Regions from separate parts of the Homo sapiens genome. Here all the other regions are linked to region 6. The links are contacts of gene promoters, found by promoter capture Hi-C in blood cells and fetal thymus (Javierre and others, 2016). All regions are on one chromosome and are shown on one strand. The core of a region is centred on a gene start or on the middle of the fragment in contact, and the rest is flanking DNA. Distances in the headings are between cores, read along the strand shown.

The links. The method cuts DNA at HindIII sites, captures the fragments that hold promoters and counts their contacts. A CHiCAGO score of 5 or more calls a contact.
Region 1: a contact is called between a fragment that was not itself captured here and the fragment with the promoter of GBP6 in region 6, in 10 of 17 cell types (activated CD4 T cells, naive CD8 T cells, total CD4 T cells and 7 more). The highest score is 10.8, in activated CD4 T cells.
Region 2: a contact is called between a fragment that was not itself captured here and the fragment with the promoter of GBP6 in region 6, in 9 of 17 cell types (total CD4 T cells, non-activated CD4 T cells, activated CD4 T cells and 6 more). The highest score is 10.5, in total CD4 T cells.
Region 3: a fragment that was not itself captured here is called in contact with the fragment with the promoter of GBP6 in region 6 in 7 of 17 cell types (non-activated CD4 T cells, activated CD4 T cells, total CD4 T cells and 4 more); the score reaches 11.3 in non-activated CD4 T cells.
Region 4: a contact is called between a fragment that was not itself captured here and the fragment with the promoter of GBP6 in region 6, in 4 of 17 cell types (activated CD4 T cells, non-activated CD4 T cells, total CD4 T cells and 1 more). The highest score is 7.6, in activated CD4 T cells.
Region 5: a fragment that was not itself captured here is called in contact with the fragment with the promoter of GBP6 in region 6 in 9 of 17 cell types (naive CD8 T cells, activated CD4 T cells, non-activated CD4 T cells and 6 more); the score reaches 10.6 in naive CD8 T cells.
Region 7: a contact is called between a fragment that was not itself captured here and the fragment with the promoter of GBP6 in region 6, in 2 of 17 cell types (activated CD4 T cells and naive CD4 T cells). The highest score is 6.1, in activated CD4 T cells.

What each region holds. Positions count from the first base shown.
Region 1 is chr1:88,950,250-88,953,262 of GRCh38, reverse strand. KYAT3 (kynurenine aminotransferase 3) reads left to right here. Exons shown (of 14, transcript NM_001008661.3): 10 at 111-200. Among named protein-coding and RNA genes, the nearest start is that of KYAT3, 41 kb to the left of the region's middle. The HindIII fragment of the contact is 4,519 bases long and covers 1-3,013 here.
Region 2 is chr1:89,047,270-89,050,241 of GRCh38, reverse strand. All of the region lies in intron 2 of LOC105378841 (a long non-coding RNA gene), which reads right to left. Among named protein-coding and RNA genes, the nearest start is that of GBP1, 16 kb to the left of the region's middle. The HindIII fragment of the contact is 7,509 bases long and covers 1-2,972 here.
Region 3 is chr1:89,065,807-89,068,706 of GRCh38, reverse strand. It overlaps LOC105378841 (a long non-coding RNA gene), which reads right to left. Exons shown (of 5, transcript XR_947575.3): 3 at 831-882. Among named protein-coding and RNA genes, the nearest start is that of GBP1, 2.0 kb to the right of the region's middle. The HindIII fragment of the contact is 3,541 bases long and covers 1-2,900 here.
Region 4 is chr1:89,102,059-89,104,758 of GRCh38, reverse strand. It overlaps the pseudogene PTGES3P1. Among named protein-coding and RNA genes, the nearest start is that of GBP2, 23 kb to the left of the region's middle. RefSeq lists an enhancer at 1-33. The HindIII fragment of the contact is 601 bases long and covers 1,104-1,704 here.
Region 5 is chr1:89,026,930-89,029,629 of GRCh38, reverse strand. No RefSeq gene overlaps it. Among named protein-coding and RNA genes, the nearest start is that of GBP3, 5.4 kb to the right of the region's middle. The HindIII fragment of the contact is 5,231 bases long and covers 1-2,700 here.
Region 6 is chr1:89,362,764-89,365,549 of GRCh38, reverse strand. It overlaps GBP6 (guanylate binding protein family member 6), which reads right to left and starts at 1,491. Exons shown (of 11, transcript NM_198460.3): 1 at 1,423-1,491. The HindIII fragment of the contact is 2,752 bases long and covers 1,033-2,786 here.
Region 7 is chr1:88,925,960-88,928,939 of GRCh38, reverse strand. It overlaps a transcript of KYAT3 not described here. Among named protein-coding and RNA genes, the nearest start is that of GTF2B, 36 kb to the right of the region's middle. The HindIII fragment of the contact is 8,876 bases long and covers 1-2,980 here.

The DNA of each region.
Region 1 (3,013 bases), core at 495-2,994, 410 kb after region 6:
AACATTTTAGGATTGTATATATTTAACAATTGCACTAAGTTTAAACTGCTGTCTCAGATTTGTTATATACAATTAGATTTTCTGAAATCTTTTATCTTTTCCTTTCCCAGCTTGGCTGGTCCATTGGTCCAAATCATTTGATAAAACATTTACAGACAGTTCAACAAAACACGATTTATACTTGTGCAACTCCTTTACAGGTAAGTGTTATAGTAACTCAGGGTAGAAGCATTGTCTTTTGGTGAAGGTATTACTTTTATATTGCATATTTGAATTGACTTAATTCTCCTTCTATCCTTCTGTTGCAGGGCCTTCTAATATAATTTGGAATTTGGGGAGCAGATACATATTCACTGTTATCAAGCATGGTTTGGGTTTTTTTTTAAACACAATTTTAGCTGTGTTAAACATTGCTGGCAGGAATCTAAAGTGCTACAAATTCTGTGAAGGACAATGGCAACACCAAACAAAATTACACATGTGTTTGCCCCATGAAAGCAATCCATCTTCTAAGAATTTACCCTAAAGTTGTGTTTTAGTCCGTTCTTGCACTTAGGTAAAGAAATACCTGAGACTTAGTAATTTATAAAGAAAAGAGGTTTACTTGGCTCATGGTTCTACAGGCTGTACAGAAAGCATAGTGGCTTCTGCTTCTGGAGAGGCCTTAGAAAACTTACAATAATGGTGGAAGGCAAAGAGGGAGTAGGCATGTCTCACAGGGCTGGAGCAGGAGGGAGAGAAGTGGGGAGGTGCAACACACTTTTAAACAACCGTATCTCACAATAACTCACTCTCATGAGAACAGCATCAAGGGGATGGTGCTAAACCATTCATGAGAAACCACTCCCATGATCCAATCACCTCCCACCAGGCCCCACCTCCAACATTGAGGATTACAACTGGACACTAGATTTGGATGAAGACACAGATCCAAACCATATCAAGCTATCTGCACATGTAAGAAGTTACGTACTTACCTGGCTATTCATTGCAGATGATTGAGGAGAATCCATTATCATCTACAGACGATTGATTACATAAACCATGATCTATCCAAACATTGAAATGTTATATGACCATATTAAGTTTCCTACTGGTGCTATAACAAATTACCACAAACTTAGTGACTTAAAACAACACAAATTTATTATCCTACGGTTCTTCAGCTCAGAAGTCAGAAATGGGTCTTAAAGGGCTAAAATCAAGGTGCTGGCATTGCTGTGTTCCTTCTGAAGGCTCTAGGAGAGTCTGTCCTCTGCTTCCGTCAACACATTTCCTGTGGCTTCAACCCTCCTGCCTCCCTTTTTCCCTTATAAGCACCTTTGAGATAACATTGGGCCCAATGGATAATCTGTCCAATTAATTAAGGATAATCTCCTTAATTTCAATCACATCTGCAAAGTTCCTTTCACCATGCAAGGTAACATATTTACAAGTTCTGGGTTTTAAGACCTAGAAGTCATTGGGACCCATTACTCTGTCTACTGGCTGCTAAAGAGAAAAGAAACAAGAAAGAAAATAGGGAAATACTATAATTACTGTACTGAGATAAAAAAGATTTCTAGAATACATCATAAAGTAAAAAAGAAAAACTATTTAAATATTATTTAATATTTAATATTTTTAATATATATTATGGAAATAGGGATTTAGTTACCATCATTCTATGGATAATCAAAATGCTGAAAAAAATAGTATTTTTCTAGAAGGCAGTTAAAAGGGCAAAAGAACCAGGCACAATGGCTCACGCCTATAATCCCAACACTTTGGGAGGCCAAGGTGAGCGGATCACCTGAGGCCAGGAGTTCGAGACCAGCCTGGCCAACATGGCAAAACCCTGTCTCTACTAAAAGTACAAAAATTAGCTGGGCATGGTGGCAGGCGCCTGTAATCCCAGCTACTCAGGAGGCTGAGGCAGGAGAATTGCCTGAATCCAGGAGACAGAGGTTGCAGTGAGCTGAGATCGTGTCACTACACTCCAGCCTGGGCAACAACAGCAAGACTTCGTCTCAAAAAAAAAAAAGAAAAGAAAGAAAAAAAAGATGTTGATAGATATGAAGAAGAAAGATAAAATAGGGAAGAGGAAGGATATAAAGCTCCAGGTGGGAGATATACAGTGTTAAATAGGGTAATCTTTGAAAGCCTCCCTGATAAGGTAACATTTGAACAACTAACTGAAGGGGATTAAGCAGCCACATGGTTACCTAGAGAAAAACCCCTTTGGACAGAGAGAACAAGCGGAAAGGCCCAGTGGTAGACAGCCTGGCTGGCATGTTAATATCAGAGAACAGCACAGAGACTGGAATGGAATGATTGAGAGAAGAGTAGGAAAAGCTAAGATCAGAGAGGTAGCTGGGAGTCCAATGGAGCTGGGGCATGCATGTCACTGTAAGGACTGAGTGAGATAGGAAGTCACTAGAGAGTTTTGAACTCAGGAGTGACTTGGTCTGGCTTGTGTTAGCAAATGGACTCTGACTGCCTCATTGAGTGAGAAAGCTGTTACAGTGATCCAAGAGAGAAATGCCAGTGCATTGAACAAAGATGGGGGTGGTAGAAGCAGTAAAAAGTGATTGGACTCTGAATATATTTTGAAAGTAGAGCCAACATTATTTGTCAATAGGTTACATATGGGATATGTGAAAAAGAAAGGAGTCCAGGATAATGCTGTAGTTAGGATGGATGTTTATGTCTCCTTATACTTGGAATTTTCTAAGGCAGTATCTCCTATAGTAAATGAACAAGTTGCCAAGAGAAAAAAAAAAAAAGATATAGCTAAGAATGCAGAACATCTTTTTCTGAACACTCTTATTCTCCATTTCAGCTAGGTGCTCTGTTTTGTCCTGGGACAACCATGTTTGGTTCCAGGAAACCACAGATTTCCAGGCTAAGGCAATCGATCCTTATTTTCCAAGATTTTGTAGTACTGGAGATTTATTACTAATTCTGTTTTACTGCATTCTTTTGGCATAAAATCTCTGTGATCTTGCCCCTCTCTGTCTCCAGTCTCATCTCT
Region 2 (2,972 bases), core at 217-2,716, 320 kb after region 6:
TGAGGTAAGATCTGACTGCATCGTGCCATGAGGTGATGTCAGGGCTGGATCTGATCAGATCACAGATTAAGCCCTGAGGTGTCTCCTTCTTAAATCAGCCCTGCTCCTTGGTCCAAGTACTTAGGTTCCACCGTGGTTGCATGCAGAGTGTGTCTGGGCATGCTCAGGTAACATAACTTGAAACCAGGAGACCGTGGCAACAGTAAAACAACGCATTATTTTATTACACAAACTTGAACCACATTGGGCTGGTTCTGCATTTTCAAATCCCCCTTTTTTCATTGTTCATTTCTCAATCTTGAGGGAGAATGGGTGACAGACACTCTGGCACTTCCTGCTGATTAGGGCACAGACCTTGGTTAGAGGTATAAAATTATTTAGCACGGTGTTGTACGACTTCCCTGATATCAGGGTTATGTTTCAAAAGGAGTTGTTTGATTCAATTTTAGGAAAATGCATAAAGTGTTAGCAACTTAAACATTATTTCTTCCAGAGAACAGAAAGAATGCTCAGGTTTAATAGCCAAAGTTCCCACGCAGGTTCCCAATCAGGTCTGTTCATTCAATTGAGAATTAAAACTCCAAACTCACTTAGTTCTGATTGGTCAACCCAGCTGAGTTCTAATGGGTCAATACAGCTGAGCCCTGATTAGCAGAGGCAGGTGGGCTGAAAAGCCCCAAAATAATAAGGTATGTGTTTTGGGTGAACTCAGAACATGTGTGTGTCCCCTCGTTAGCAAATGGTCCCTTGGCTCAACTTGAAATGCAGGCCCAGTTAGCCACTCAGGATGCATCTTGAAAGACTGGCTCAAACTTGTTGGCAGACAGCACTGCATTCCATCACGGCATGGAAGTGATTAGCTACGTGCTTCAGGTTTATCTGGTCTCTTCTAGGGATCCTGGTGGCAGAGCAGTGGCCAATTGAGCAACTAGAGCCATTTACTTACAAAAGGCACTCAGGTACCTGTTAGATTCTAATCAAAGTCTCGTAGGTTATGTTGATTCTGGTTCCTGTCTGGAGTAAATTTAAAATTTCCTGGGTTAGGTCAGCATGATCCAAGCCTCTTGCAGATATCTGTTAAAACAGGCTAGAAGAGCTGGGCGCAGTGGCTCACACCTGTAATCTCAGCACACTGGGAGGCCGAAGTGGGCGGATCACCTGAGGTCAGGAGTTTGAGACCAGCCTGAGCAACATGAAGAAAATGCATCTCTACTAAAAATACAAAACTAGCCGGGTGTGGTGGTGCGTGCCTGTAATCCCAGCTACTCGGGAGGCTGAGGCAGGAGAATCGCTTGAACCAAGGAGGTGGAGGTTGCAGTGAGCCGAGATCCCACCATTGCACTCCAGCCTGGGCAACAAGTGTGAAACTCCATCTCCAAACAAAACAAAACAAACAAACAAAAAAAACAGGCTAGAACAATTCAAAAGAGTACCCAAATGATTAGCCCAAATAGAAGGATCATTAAGATCTGTAGGATGGAACACAGAAGGTATCCTAGACTAGAGACAAAAGCCAGCTGAAAATATCTGGAAATTGTAAATTCAAGCCAGGAAGTCCAGCCAGGAGGCTTTTTGAAGGTGTCCCATTCAGAGATTTAGCTAACTTTAGGATCTTAGATGTGTCCAATTCAATCTAACTAGATGTATTTACCCAGGTGCAGCAGCAAATGTTAGCAACAGCACAAACATCACCCTGTACAGCAAGAAGACAGTCAAAAACAATGTAGTTGTCTAGGACCACATGAGCAAGGGAGTTTGGGACTTCTGCTGTGCTCTGATGGTTTGGCCAGTGGAGCAGTCATTCTATTAACAGTACAAGATTTCTGACCATATTCTCATTCCAAGCAGGGCATAGTCCAAACTCGGACCCCAGTAACCTTCCTGATCTAGCTGCTTCACTAGAGTTAATCCTTCTGGGTAAATCACATCTTTGGTAATATCCCCAGCTATAATCTAAGAGATTATCATTGGTGTTCAGTTGTGTCTCCAAGACTCTCAGGTAGCTCTTTGGGTAGCAGTGGTGAGACTAGCTGAATAGATTAAAAATTGGGTTATTCATTTCTGTAGCCAAATCTCCTGGTGAGGATAACTTAAGTACTATTTTTGCCTTTTGGGAGAAGGAAATATGGGCCTGATAGGTTTCTAAGAAGTCTCTTCAGGCTGAAGTGCTTCGTCACTATTTCTTTATCCCACCAAATATTCCCTTATCAGACCTTGAAACCCCATCTCTCCCACATCCTGTTTGTCCTATATTCTTAAAATTCCCACATGAAACACCTTCTTTCCGTGATGATTGATGGTGTGTTGTTTCCATGACCTAATCCAGACTGATTCACCAACATTTTTTATAAGAATAAAATTCTAATACAGAATGATTCCAACATTCCCGAAAGTGTTCACTGTTCTGTGCCCCTACACTTTTCCCACAGTATGAGTACTGGGTAAAAACAGATGAGTGATTTGACTAGAAGATGGTGTCTATAAAGCCATGGTCTGATGACATTGATTTAGATCATTTTTATTCTATACAGATACACAATGCTATGTAACTTCTTCGTATATTCTCTCATCCTGAAAATATGTTTTATAAATATGTATGAAATTTCAAAACAGGCCTGGCATGGTGCCTCATGCCTATAATGCCAGCACTTTGGGAGGCCAAGGCAGGTGGATCGCTTGAATCTAGGAGTTTGAGACCAGCCTGGGAAACATGGCGAGACCCCATCTCTACAGAAAAAAATAAAAATAAATAAAAAAAATTAGTCAGAGGTTGTTGTGCACACCTGTGTTCCCATCTACTCAAGAGGCTTAGGCAGGAGGATCACTTGAGCTGCAGAGGCAGAGGTTGCAGGGAGCTGAGATTGCACCCCTGCACTCCAGCCTGGGTGACAGACCCAGACTCTGTCTCATAAAAAAAAATCAAAACAGAAATTATGAAAAATATTAATGATAGCTACATAAAAGATCACACA
Region 3 (2,900 bases), core at 265-2,764, 300 kb after region 6:
CTCTATCTTACTTCTAACCTCCAAGCTGTCCTTGTTCATCCCTGAGCATAGGCCAAACTGACATTGGAAGGAATTTAGTCAGCCTTTTCCCAAAATAAAACCCCTTCTTCCCTGAGAACTAGACTAACTTTGCAAGACTAACAAATCAGCCATGAGATTAGAAACTGTGGTCTGAGAGTCATGCAGCTAGAGGCCACAAGATTCCAGACCTCTCCAATTGCCATCCAGGTCAATAAACTGGCTCATCTGGTCTTGTGGCCCCCAGCCAGGAACCAACTCATGCAAGAGGACAACTTTGATGCCCTGTGATTTCATCCCTAACCCAGCCAATCAGCACTCCCCACTCCCCAACCTCCTACCCACCAAATTATCCTCAGAAACCCCCATACCCACATTATCAGGGAGAATCTTTTGAGTAATAATAAAACTTGAGAATCCCATACAGCCAGCTCTGCGTGAATTAAACGCTTTCTCTACTGCAATTCCCCTGTCTTGATAAATCAGCTCTACCTAGGCAACAGGCAAGGAGAACCTGTTGGGCAGTTATGGAGCCTCTGCTCTATGAGTGGGACTGGGAAAGTTTGGGAGCCCTTGACTTCTGGTCACACTCACCAGAAATTTAGTCTTTACAACTCACTATTGGAGGGGATGAAAAATTCTGGTGGACTGGCACTCCTGATAGGATATGTCATCCCTGCTCAGAATGTGAGAGAAGAGGCAGCCCCACCTTCTTTCCATAGCCCCCAGTAGTGGACCTTTTGTCAACCCGAACTGAAAATGAGGATGAAGAGGCCCAAGGGTCAAGTGCCACAGATTCTTGTTATTCTTACCGGAGTTATAGGAGCTCTCCTTGAATAGATGTTTCATTGTGATGTATGCTTCCTGTGGGGAAAAGCAAGAGAGATCAGATTGTCACTGTGTCTGTGTAGAAAGAAGTAGACATGGGAGACTCCATTTTGTTATGTACTAAGAAAAATTCTTCTGCCTTGAGATTCTGTGACCTTACCCCCAACCCCGTGCTCTCTGAAACATGTGCTGTGTCAAACTCAGGGTTAAATGGATTAAGGGCGGTGCAAGATGTGCTTTGTTAAACAGATGCTTGAAGGCAGCACGCTCCTTAAGAGTCATCACCACTCCCTAATCTCAAGTACCCAGGGACACAAAAACTGTGGAAGGCCTCAGGGACCTCTGCCTAGGAAAGCCAGGTATTGTCCAAGGTTTCCCCCCATGTGATAGTCTGAAATATGGCCTTGTGGGAAGGGAAAGACCTGACCGTCCCCCAGCCCGACACCCGTAAAGGGTCTGTGCTGAGGAGGATTAGTATAAGAGGAAGGCATGCCTCTTGCAGTTGAGACAAGAGGAAGGCATCTGTCTCCTGCCCGTCCCTGGGCAATGGAATGTCTCGGTATAAAACCCGATTGTATGTTCCATCTACTGAGATAGGGAAAAACCACCTTAAGGCTGGAGGTGGGACATGCGGGCAGCAATACTGCTTTGTAAAGCATTGAGATGTTTATGTGTATGCGTATCTAAAAGCACAGCACTTAATCCTTTACCTTGTCTATGATGCAAAGACCTTTGTTCACGTGTTTGTCTGCTGACCCTCTCCCCACAATTGTCTTGTGACCCTGACACATCCCCCTCTCGGAGAAACACCCACGAATGATCAATAAATACTAAGGGAACTCAGAGGCTGGCGGGATCCTCCATATGCTGAACGCTGGTTCCCCGGCTCCCCTTATTTCTTTCTCTCTACTTTGTCTCTGTGTCTTTTTCTTTCCTAAGTCTCTCGTTCCACCTTACGAGAAACACCCACAGGTGTGGAGGGGCAACCCACCCCTACACTTCCAGGACAATCTGCAGAGATTTTAAATGGTTCAAATAATTTTGACAGATGTAAGAATGTTATGCTCTAAAAAGTAAAAGACTTTAAAGTAGTTTTAATAATAAAGGAGCTACAGTGTTAAGGAAGGATGATAGAAAGAGTTTAGATAAAATTATTTTACAAAGTATGAATGAGAAAAGACACTGTATCTGCAATTTATATACATCTAATATATAATTTTAATGTGTAAGTGAGAAATGCTTGGCCAGGCCTGGTGGCTCACACTTGTAATCCCAGCACTTTGGGAGGCCAAGGTGGGTGGATCATCTGAGGTCGGGAGTTCGAGACCAGCCTGACCACCATGGAGAAACCCCATCTCTACTAAAAATACAAAATTAGCCAGGATAGTGGTACATGCCTGTAGTCCCAGCTACTTGGGAGGCTGAGGCAGGAGAATTGATTGAACCCAGGAGGCGGAGGTTGCAGTGAGCCGAGATCGTGCCACTGCACTCCAGCCTGGGCAACAAGAGTGAAACTCCATCTCAAAAAAAAAAAAAAAAAAAAAGAAAAAGAAAAAGAAAAAAAAAGAAATGCTCACACAAGGTTGGGTCTGGTGGCTCATGCCTATAATCCCAGCAATTTGGGAGGCCGAGGCAGGGGGATCATTTGAAGGAAGGAGTTCAAGACCAACCTAAGCAACAAAGTGAAACCACATCACTATAAATATATTTTTAAATGAAATGTTCACTCAGGCTTTTTACTATTTTATTTGCTTTTGCTGTAAAATAGAGATAATGCCACTTATTCTGTATGCTAGAAGTCATTACTGAATTAGACATAAAACACAAACAGCTCTTAGAAAACAATCTATAAAAATAAAATCACACTATAATAAATTTAAAAATAAAAAACCTATAAATAAAATATTTCTACAATTTTTCACTTAGTAAATAAGCAGCATAGTGAAGTGGTTCAAGAAGAGGGTATGGGATCATGAGTGCTTGGGTTCAGATTAGTTACAGTGTTATGATTTTAGACAACTAATAAAGTCTTTCTGTGCTCAGTTTCTATAAAA
Region 4 (2,700 bases), core at 155-2,654, 260 kb after region 6:
GCTTCTGCAAAGTGGTACGATCAAAGGCACTATGTCTTCATTGAATTTTGTGTTGAAGACAGTAAGGATGTTAATGTAAATTTTGAAAAATCCAAACTTACATTCAGTTGTCTCGGAGGAAGTGATAATTTTAAGCATTTAAATGAAATTGATCTTTTTCACTGTATTGATACAAACGATTCCAAGCATAAAAGAACGGACAGATCAATTTTATGTTGTTTACGAAAAGGAGAATCTGGACAGTCATGGCCAAGGTTAACAAAAGAAAGGGCAAAGCTTAATTGGCTTAGTGTTGACTTCAATAATTGGAAAGACTGGGAAGATGATTCAGATGAAGACATGTCTAATTTTGATCGTTTCTCTGAGATGATGAATAACATGGGTGGTGATGAGGATGTAGATTTACCAGAAGTAGATGGAGCAGATGATGATTCACAAGACAGTGATGATGAAAAAATGCCAGATCTGCAGTAAGGAATATTGTCATCACCTGGGTTTTGAGAAAGAAAAATAACTTCTCTGCAAGATTTCATGATTGAGAGAATTCCTGAGTTGATCTAAAAGCAGATGCTGTAGCTGCCTACTTTAACCCATTTTTCAACCTGTTTGTTTTTTAAAGGGCTTCACTAAGGGTTGATATGTACCATTGTAGGGGGCAATTTTAAGTCAGCTAAGGCAATAACCTTATGCATGAACATTTCCCAGACTTTCATGAAGCTGTTGAGGTCCTAGGCAATTAATGCGGCAGTTGTGATAAATAAAAACATCTCACCTAAGTCTCCTTTTCTTCATAATATAGATACTGACATGATGATAGGAAGCTCTCAGCTTAGGGAAAGAGAGCTAAATTTTAGATTATAGAACATGGATTCAAAAGTGGCTGAACAAATTGGCTGACACCTTACTGGTAACCTGCTATTCCTCTGGTGTTATCCTTCAGGATTGTTCCACTAAAATTTATTTTTCAAAAAATTTACTTCACATTATTCTATGTAAGTGATCACTTGTCAGTGTTCCAGGTGTATATTAGCTAAAATTAGAGAATGCCCTAACTTAGATGGTTTTTGAAGCCTGTACATTTGGTATTGTTTGACCCTTAAGCTTTTACATCTCTTAGCATGGAAGACGAAGAAAGCTGTACATTGTTGCTTGAGAGTCTGTACATTTAGTCCAGATTTGTATTTGCATTGTCAGTATGGCAAATGAGTGAAAAATGTTTAATACACTATTGTATTTTTTTTTTTTGAGAGTCTCTCTCTGTCACCCAGGCTGGAGTGCAGTGGCCCGATCTCTGCTCACTGCAAGCTCCACATCCCGGGTTCACACCATTCTCCTGCCTCAGCCTCCCGAGTAGCTGGGACTACAGGCGCCTGCCACCATGCCCGGCTAATTTTTTGTATTTTTTAGTAGAGATGGGGTTTCACCGTGTTAGCCAGGATGGTCTCGATCTCCTGACCTCGTGATCTGCCCCCCTCAGCCTCCCAAAGTGCTGGGATTACAGGCATGAGCCACCGCGCCCGGCCGGATTTTTTCTTTTTTTGATTCAGCTTATACCAGGGCTGAAAACCTCAATTTATGTTCATGACAGTGGGGATTTTTTTAAATGCCTACATTCTTTCTAATAAACTGTTGGAAGACTTTAAAAAAAAAGTCTTAGTAGTATATTTGCTGTAAAATGAGGATGATAACTTACATCAACAAGCTTGTACTGAGGAATAAATTAAATTTCATAAATAATACCTATAAAGAATTTAACACAATATCTACTGTATAATAGGCACTAAATGTAATATATATATATATAATATATATATATATATTTTTTTTTTTTTAGGCAGAGTCTCACTCTGTCACCCAGGCTGGAGTGTAGTGACGCAATCTCAGCTCACTGCAATTTCTGCCTCCCGGGTTGAAGCAATTCTCCTGCCTCCACCTCCCAAGTGGCTGGGATGATAGGCACACATCACCATGCCCAGATAATTTTTGTATTTTTAGTACAGACGGGTTTCGCCATGTTGGCCAGCCTGGTCTGGAACTCCTGACCTCAAGTGATCTGCCTGCCTCAGCCTCCCAAAGCACTGGGATTATAGGCGTGAGCCACTGCACCCAGCCTGAATGCAATATACTTTTTATTATAACACTAACCCAGGGTTCAATGCTGCAATGAAACTTATGTATTATAAGGTGAAAGTATGATTTAAAAATTACTACATGAAAATATAATTCATCTCAGTAATATTTAAAAACTTATGAAAATAGCATGCCATTTTCCACCTCTCAATTTAGTTAATATTAAAAAGCCTTATTCCACCTGTTTCGGGGGGTGGTGAAGGGATGGAGGCAAATTTATTAATACATCTCAAAAGCCTTTAATAAGAACATCATCTCTGACCTTCATGCTCCACTCCCAGTTTCATTCTTTTAATCAAAATACATATGGAAGGCTACATCCTTAATTTGGTGCTAGGTACTCATCAGTATATAAGACATGTCCTTTCCTTCACTTGCTGCATCTCTAAGTGACTAACCTGTTCCAATATGAGTATGTCAAATATTTGAGGAAGTTAGACTTAAAAACAATATGATTCCTCCTCATTCTTGGCTTTTCAAAATGTCACCCAAACCTGAAGTAAGTGAGATTATATTTCACATGATATGATGGACTTTTAAAAACAACAACAAATGGTATCTAAGATTTCT
Region 5 (2,700 bases), core at 92-2,591, 340 kb after region 6:
AACCTGGGCAATACCATTCAGGACATAGGCATGGACAAGGACTTCATGACTAAAACACCAAAAGCAACGGCAACAAAAGCCAAAATTGACAAATGGGATCTAATTAAACTAAAGAGCTTCTGCACAGCAGAAGAAACTTCCATCAGAGTGAACAGGCAACCTACAGAATGGGAGACCATTTTTGCAATCTACCCATCTGACAAATGGCTAATACCCAGAATCTACAAAGAACTTAAACAAATTTACAAGAAAAAAACAAACAACCACATCAAAAAGTGGGCAAAGGATATGTCTTATTTTGAGAGAAGTCTCAAAAGAAGACATTTTTGCAGCCGACACATGAAAAAATGCTCATCATCACTAGTCATCAGAGAAATGCAAATCAAAACCACAATGAGATACCATCTCACACCAGTTAGAAAGGCGTTCACTAAAAAGTCAGGAAACAGCAGTTGCTGGAGAGGATTGGAGAAATAGGAATGCTTTTACACTGTTGGTGGGAGTGTAAACTAGATAAACCATTGTGGAAGACAGTATGGTGATTCCTCAAGGATCTAGAACTAGAAATACCATTTGACCCAGCCATCCCCTTACTGGGTATATACCTAAAGGATTATAAATCATGCTACTATAAAGACACATGCACATATGTGTTTATTGCGGCACTATTCACAATAGCAAAGACTTGGAACCAACCAAAATGTCCATCTATGATAGACTGGATTATGAAAATGTGGCACATATACACCATGGAATACTTTGCAGCCATAAAAAAGGATGAGTTCATGTCCTTTGCAGGGATATGGATGAAGCTGGAAACCATCATTCTAAGCAAACTATCACAAGGACAGAAAATCTAACACTGCATTTTCTCACTCATAGGTGGGAATTGAACAGTGAGAACACTGGGACATGGGGTGGGGAACATTACACACCAGGGCCTGTCGTGGGGTGGGGGGCAGGGGGAGGGAAAGCATTAGGAGAAACACCTAATGTAAATGACAAGTTAATGGGTGCAGCAAACCAACATGGCACATGTATACCTATGTAACAAACCTGCACATTGTGCACATGTACCCTCTAACTTAAAGTATAATTTAAAAAGTGCATGCAATCCTTTATCTTTACTTTTCATAATAGCTATATTGTCATATGATATAGTTATACTACTGTCCACAAATACTGTCCAATAGAATGTTGCAAACATCCAGAACGAGTATATTCCACTTTCTCACAGAAAGATTGTTTTCAGGTGGCAAGAAATGAAAACATTTACAAACTTTCAGGGTTTTCTATAATACCTTCAACTCATAATAATCGTTAATTGATTAGTATTTGTCCAATCTCATGAAAAACTTACAATACTGGACTAGTATTTGGGGGTCTGGTTTTTTTCCAAATATTTTTATATTTTTTGTTTTGATTAATTCATTCTACTCTATTTTGAATACAGATGACACATTTGTCTTTTTTTGATTTTGGCTTTTTTCCAGATAGTCATGTAAAAATGAATCAAATTCAGCAAATAGTTTCATGATTCTCATGAAATATCCATTATTCCAGGAATGTCACTTTCAATCATAACCTCATGTAGACCAAGCCTCAATTAAAATACAATAATTGCCACTATTCATTCAAAATGATAACAAATGTTCTTCAACACTTTGGTAAGTGCTTTTATTTGATTTACATTGAATTAAAAAAACTCAAGCCTTCATATGCTCCGTGGAGTCTTTAACATATTTTGAGAGTTCTTCTATATTCACTCAGTTGGAAAACCATGCCTTGTAAATAAATCTGTTCTTGTAAATATTATTTACCAACTAAACACCATATGCAGACTTTTAGTTCTGGGATATGCCAACCAAGATCTCATAATAGTTTGAACATTTTAAAATTTGTGAATAGTGTTTATTATCTCAGGGACAAATGCACGAGTAGGTAGTCCCAACACCGAGTGCTCCAGTCCCTCACCTTAAAGAGCTTCAAGAATGACACCAAAGGATTCCACCAATCCTGAATCAACCTTCTATCATTTCCCAGTAAAGTAGATGGGCAGAGAAATTCAGATATTAACTACTAATATTTGCTTCTTAAGGACACATATCCATGTTACACTTGCAAGAACAGGTCTAAAGAGTCTGTTACATATTGTTTTCCCTCCAAGAAGGAGACACAGAATTCCAGCTGTTAACTATGCAGCCATAAAAAGGAACGAGATCATGTCCTTTGCAGGGTCATGGATGGAGATGGAAGTTGGAAGCCATTATCCTCAGCAAACTAACACAGAAACACAAAACCAAACACCCTGTGTTCTCACTTATAAGTGGGAGCTGAATAATGAGAACACATGGACACATGGTGAGGAACATACACACTGGGGCCTGTTGGGGTGGGATTTTGGGAAGGGACAGCATTACGAAGAGTAGCTAAGGTATGCTGGGCTTAATACCTAGGTGATGGGATGATCTGTGCAGCAAACCACCATGGCACACATTTACCTGTGTAACAAACCTGCACATCCTGCACATGTACCCCTGAACTTAAGAGTTGAAGTATAAAAAAATAAATAAATAAAAAACTAGAAAAAAAGTCTATGGCCTAAGAAGGACTTTACACAAATATACTGTGGCTCTGTAAAATAATTTCTCTTTTTTAAGAAACACACACTGAAGTTTTTAGGTATAAAAAGCCATTATG
Region 6 (2,786 bases), core at 242-2,741:
ATTTTTCACGGAAGCAAAACTGTAAAGTTCAAGCACGCTGTTGCTGTACAACCTGCTCTTGTCTGATTCTTCACTGAGGGGAGTAAGGAAAATGGAGATCAAACACGAGGTCCTGATTTCCACAGTGAAATGCATTGTAATGTGATGTGTAACGTGTTCATCACATTACAGTGACTGCAACTGTACAGTCCCTTCTTTAAAGTGAACAATAAAGGCAGCTCTAGGAAGATGTGGCTGCTCCTGCAAACAACTTTATATAAACCAGGTCTCTGGTTTCTTAGCTGTGTGGGAACCACAGACCTTTTAACTTCTACTAAATGAAATACAGCTGTTCAATCCTATTCAGGACTGGTTTTCACACTCTGATGTACATAAGAATCACCTGATCACTCTGATGATAGTTTCTTTTGCTGTGCAGAAGCTCTTTAATTAGATCCCATTCTCAGCAAACTAACACAGGAACAGAAAACCAAAAACTGCGTGTTCTAACTGGTAAGTGGGAGTTGAACAATGAGAACATGTGGACACGGGCGGCGGGGGGTTGGCGCTGGGGGTGGGGGTGGGAAACTCACACACTGGGGCCTGTCAGTGGGTGGAGGGCAAGGGGAGGGAGAGCATTAGGACAAATACCTAATGCATGCGGGGCTTAAAACCTAGATGACGGATTGATAGGTGCAGCAAACCACCATGGGACATGGTGGTTTTTAAAAAAATCTTTTTTATTTTAAACATAGTGTCTATTCTTCATCTTTTTTTTTTTTAAAGAATCAACTGAGAGGATTGTTCAAACCCAGATTCCCAGGCCTAAGTATCCATCTGTTTAGCAAGAGCTACAAGAGACTCTGATGTTCCTATGGGAAACTAACACCCCCCTCCTCCCCCACCCCCTCCCCACACACACATACACACACACACACACACACGCACACACAGAGTTTGGACTATATAATTATTTTTAAGTAATAAAGACCAGTGATGTGGGGCCTAAGTTTATTTCTACATAGAGATTTATAGAGCTCTTATTCTGAAGCTTTCCTAAGTGTGACCACTAGAAAGATAGACAAGAAACTCTCCCTTCCGGTATAATTGCCTGGAAGCTCCTTGTTCTCTGCATTCTGGGGCTTGCCGCAGGACCTGAGAGAGATAGCCAGGCAGGCGCCCACCAGGGCTCATTCCAGGCCACTCACTGCTGTCCTGAGTTGATGATCAGGGAACAGCACATCCAGGGGGACGCGGCGTGCCCGGCTGTCACTGGTTCAAGTGGAGAAGCTGAGCTTCCCCAGAACTAAAGCCAGCCACAGACTCCTGCAGGCCAGGCAGCAGGCACCCTGCCCTTCCTGCCCATTCCTCAGTTACCACTCTGAATCAGAAACCAAGTCTTGAGTTAGGAACTAAGTTGCATTTAAAAGAAAGTGAACATACCTGCTCTATAGCACCGCAGGTCCAAGAACAGTTTTCAGTTGCCTCACTCACCTCTTGTTTTCTTTCCTCCTTTTACTTTTCTGTTCTTTCCTTTATAAAAGGAAAAAAAAGCTGAGTAAGCTAGTTGTTTCCACAAATGGGATGGTGCAGTAAAAATAAACTTGGAAGTAAAATTAATCCATGCTTTTAATAAAGTGTTAGCAGAGCCATGCCTGAATCATCCGATGTGAGTTTGAGGATGGGTGTTGGGTGCAGGGGTGGGAGGAGGTCAGAAAAAGCCACAGATACTGCACAGTCACACCTTAGCAAGCACAATCCTGCCAGCTTTCTTTTGTCTTTCCCATCTTAGAAGGCTTCACAGGCTTTCTTCTTGATACCGTTCCCAGGTGGCTTTAGTTTCCTAGGCACACAAGAAAAACAGGAAATCTACAGTAGTCACATAAGCAAAGCCTTAGAAACCAAGAATATTTTAAGCATTTTTCTCTTAGTGGGAATTCTTGAGTTCTGGGGTCTTTTGTTAGTGAAGAACTTTTGATATTTTAAATGTGTTCACACATGCACACACACACACAGAAGAGAGAGAGAGAAAGAGAGAGAGCTAAAGATATTACTGGTTTAAAAAAAGAATGAACCATGTCTTTTACAGCAACATGGATGGAACTGGAGTTCATTATCTTAGGTGAAACAACTCAGAAACCGAAAGTCAAATACCACATTCTTACTCATAAGTGGAAGCTAAAAAATCTGCATACATGGACATAGAAGGTGGAATGTGCAGTGCATAACAGTGTACAAGCTCCTATGAGAATCTAATGCTGCTGCTGATCTGACAGGAGGCAGGTCTCAGGCCTTAGTGCTCTCTCCCTACTCACCTCCTGTGTGGCCCAGTTTCTAACAGACCATGCTCTGGGGGTTTGGGACCCTTGATGTGGACTATTTATCCAACAACCCACAGTTTCCATTGGTTGAGTCTTATCCCCAGGGACTTTAACTATTTTGAATTCACAAGCTGCCCTTGGGCAAAATAGACACCCTTTCACAGCTTGGAGAAACATCTGAGTGAGAAAAGGAGAAAGACTCTCTACAGAGGACATAGCAGCATGCTGGGACTGTCTACCATGGCTGCACTGCTAAATGGATTTGAGAACAGAAGCAAGTGGCAGAATGAGCAGACATGAGTTTTGGCAATAACTTAGGCTGAGGATTTGGGGAGTGTGGTAGACTAATCTGAATACTCTATTCAGACAAAGACTTGTGTTAAAAATGTAAAATTCTGGGCCAGGTGCGGTGGCTCACTCCTGTAATCCCAGCACTTTGGGAGGCCGAGGCGGGCGGATCACGAGGTCAGGAGATCAAGACCATCC
Region 7 (2,980 bases), core at 24-2,523, 440 kb after region 6:
CTAACAAGGGAGTGGGGCTTTCAGGCATAATTAGAAAAGCATGTGAAAACAGTAAAGCTCCCCAGTCACAACTTAGTGGCTGAGAGAAGTATCTAGTAACTGGCTGTCCTAGGACCCCTCGGATAGTGACAGATCTGGAGGACAGTTGTCCGGGACAGGAGAGTAAGACTGAGAAGGCTGTGCCAGTGTCCAGGAGGCAGTTAACCTCCTGGCCCTCAATGGTCTAGCATACCTGGGGCTCTGTGAGGGTGATGGCATGGGCTGGCACTTGCCCCGGGCACCCTCAGTCCTGCTGCTGGATCATCTGGTTAGTGGCTTCTGACTCAGAGGACCTTCGTCCCCTGGGGCAGTGGGCCTTCCAGTGATTCCCTTGACATAAGGGGCATGGACGAGGGGGTGGCTTACTTCTACTTGGACAATCTTTTTTAAAGTGTCCTTGTAGACCGCACTGGAAGCAAGCCCTATTAGCATTCGATTTGCCCAGCTTTTCTCTTTTCCAGAGCCTCCAAAGTCCGCTTGCCTGAGGGCCATGACTAAAGCGGTGGCCCTTTTTTTTTTATCCCGTTTGTCCCGTTCCTCCTGATCTCTATTATAAAAAACCAACGTTGCCAAGTTCAATAGGGTTTCTAAGTTTTGCTCCAGGCCTAAGGAGGACTTCTGAAGTTTTTTTCTAATGTCTGCAGCTGACTGAGTGAAAAATTTATCCTTTAAGATTAGTTGACCTTCAATAGAGTCAGGTGACAGGGAGGTATGCTTCCTCAATGTCTCCCTTAGTCTCTCCAGAAAGGCAGAAGGATTTTCTTCCTTTCCCTGTGTTATAGTGGACATCATTGAATAATTCATAGGCTTCTTCCTAGTTTTCCTTAGTCCTTCTAGCGCGCAAGTTAGCAAATGTCTGCGGCACCAATCTCCATGTTCTGATTCTGTGTCCCAATGAAGGTCTACAGTGGGAACTGCCTGCTGGCCTGTGGGGAATCATTCTCTTTCCTCTGTTGTCATCCTATCATTGAGCTGACTGAGATACCAGAGATCACCAAACTCTCGGGCTGCAGTTATGGCGGCACTTCTCTCATTTGGGGTTAGTGTCTGATTTAGCAGTAACATATCTCTCCATGTCAAATCAAAGGATTGTCCTAACCCTTCTAAAACATCAATATAGCCATCAGGGTTATCTGAGAATTTACCTAGGTCTATTTTAATTTGCTTTAAGTCTGAGAGAGATAAAGGTACATGCACTCTGGCTGGGCCGAATTCTCCTCCTCCTACTGCTTGGAGGGGGCATAATCGGGGAATACTGGTACTCTTTGGTTCATTGTTTACCCCTTTGTCTATCTCCTCTTGGACCATTTGGGTTGAAGGGGGGTCCTTATTAGTTGGGGAAGGAGTCAGGGGGACACTGGGGTAGGGAGGTAGACTCTGAGGGCTTCCTGTAGGGCATAAATCACACTTTTTACATAATTGCCAGTTGTCTCTTAATGAAAAGAAAGTTTGCACATATGGCACTTCACTCCATTTGCCTTCTTTTCTACAAAAGAGGTCTAGCTGTAAGATGCTGTTATAATTTATACTTCTCTTAGGAGGCCAGGTTTCTCCCCCTTGAAGAGGATATTGTGGCCAGGCAGTACTGCAGAAGAATATAAGTAGTTTCTTTCTTAGCATCTGAGGGTCAAATTGGTCCCAATTCTCCAGAATACATCTTAGGGGCGTTTTTGCCTTGGGGGGAATGTTTCCCATCTGAAAAAAGAACATAGGGATGCCAGCACCCCTAGTCATTTTCTGATGAGCATTAGTCCTAGAGCGTCCTCTATGGTCCTAATGTTTATTCCCTTCCAGGGTGCGTAACCACCCATGGACCTCTGCTTATCGGATTAGTTACGCTTACCGATGTAGCAGTCCTGCACCCCTTTTTCCGTCTTTCTTGACCACAAAGAAATGGGTCCGGGCTGCTGGATTCTAGTGGTCCTTTACCAGCGTGCCCAACATTGCATTTGTGCTCAGGGGTGAGTCCTAGAGCTGGGCTGGGTTCCTGAGTATTTCATAACAACCCAGCTGCCCCATCAAGATTCATTCCCATAAACAACAGTTCTTATGCAAATTTGTTTCAGAGAGGGTGTGGGTAACCTTTTGAGTCAGGATTGAGATAGTCTTTTTTGATTCTGTAAGTACTTTAAGGCTCGGCTAAGTGCAAACAGCTCCCACGTTTGAGGAGACCAATTATTAGGCAATTTTTCTAACTCTGCTTCCACAAGAGTCTCCCTATCAATTACTGAATACCCGTTGTGGTTTTTCCCTCAGTCTCCTGGGAGGAACCATCTATCGGTCAGGGCCAGGTGTGGTGGCTCACATCTGTAATCCTAGCACTTTGGGAGGCCAAGACAGGAGGATCGCTTGAGCCCAGGAGTTTGCGACCAGCCTGGGCAACACAGTGAGATCCTGTCTATACAAAAAGTAAAGAAAAATTAACCAGGTATGGTGGCACACACCTGTACCCTCAACTAATTGTGGGGGTGAGGGGGGTGGATTGCTTGGGCCTGGAAAGTTGAAGTTGCAGTGAGCGCCATAATTGTACCACTGCACTCCAGCCTGGGTGACAGAGCGAGACCCTGTGTCCTGTCCTGAAGGGAGTTCCTCCTAGGTCTGGTCGGACCTTTGTATGGTAATTAAGATTTAAATCCCCTGTTAGGAAATCTGCTGGGTTAAGGGAATTATCAGTGGTTGGTGTTAAATTACCTTTTTCTAACAGAATAGACCCATACTTTAAGATTTTTGAGTTAGTAAGCTACCTGTTTGCTTTTTTGACTTACGATAGTTCTGAACTGGTGAGGTGTGCTCACAATGAGGTTTCCTCTAAAGGCTAATTTTCTACTTTCTTCTGTTAGCAAAGCAGTTGCTGCTACAGATTGAATGCATTTGGGCCACCCGCGGGTTCCTGGGTTAAGGATTTTTGATAGGAAGGCTACTGGTTGTCGGTGGCCTCAGT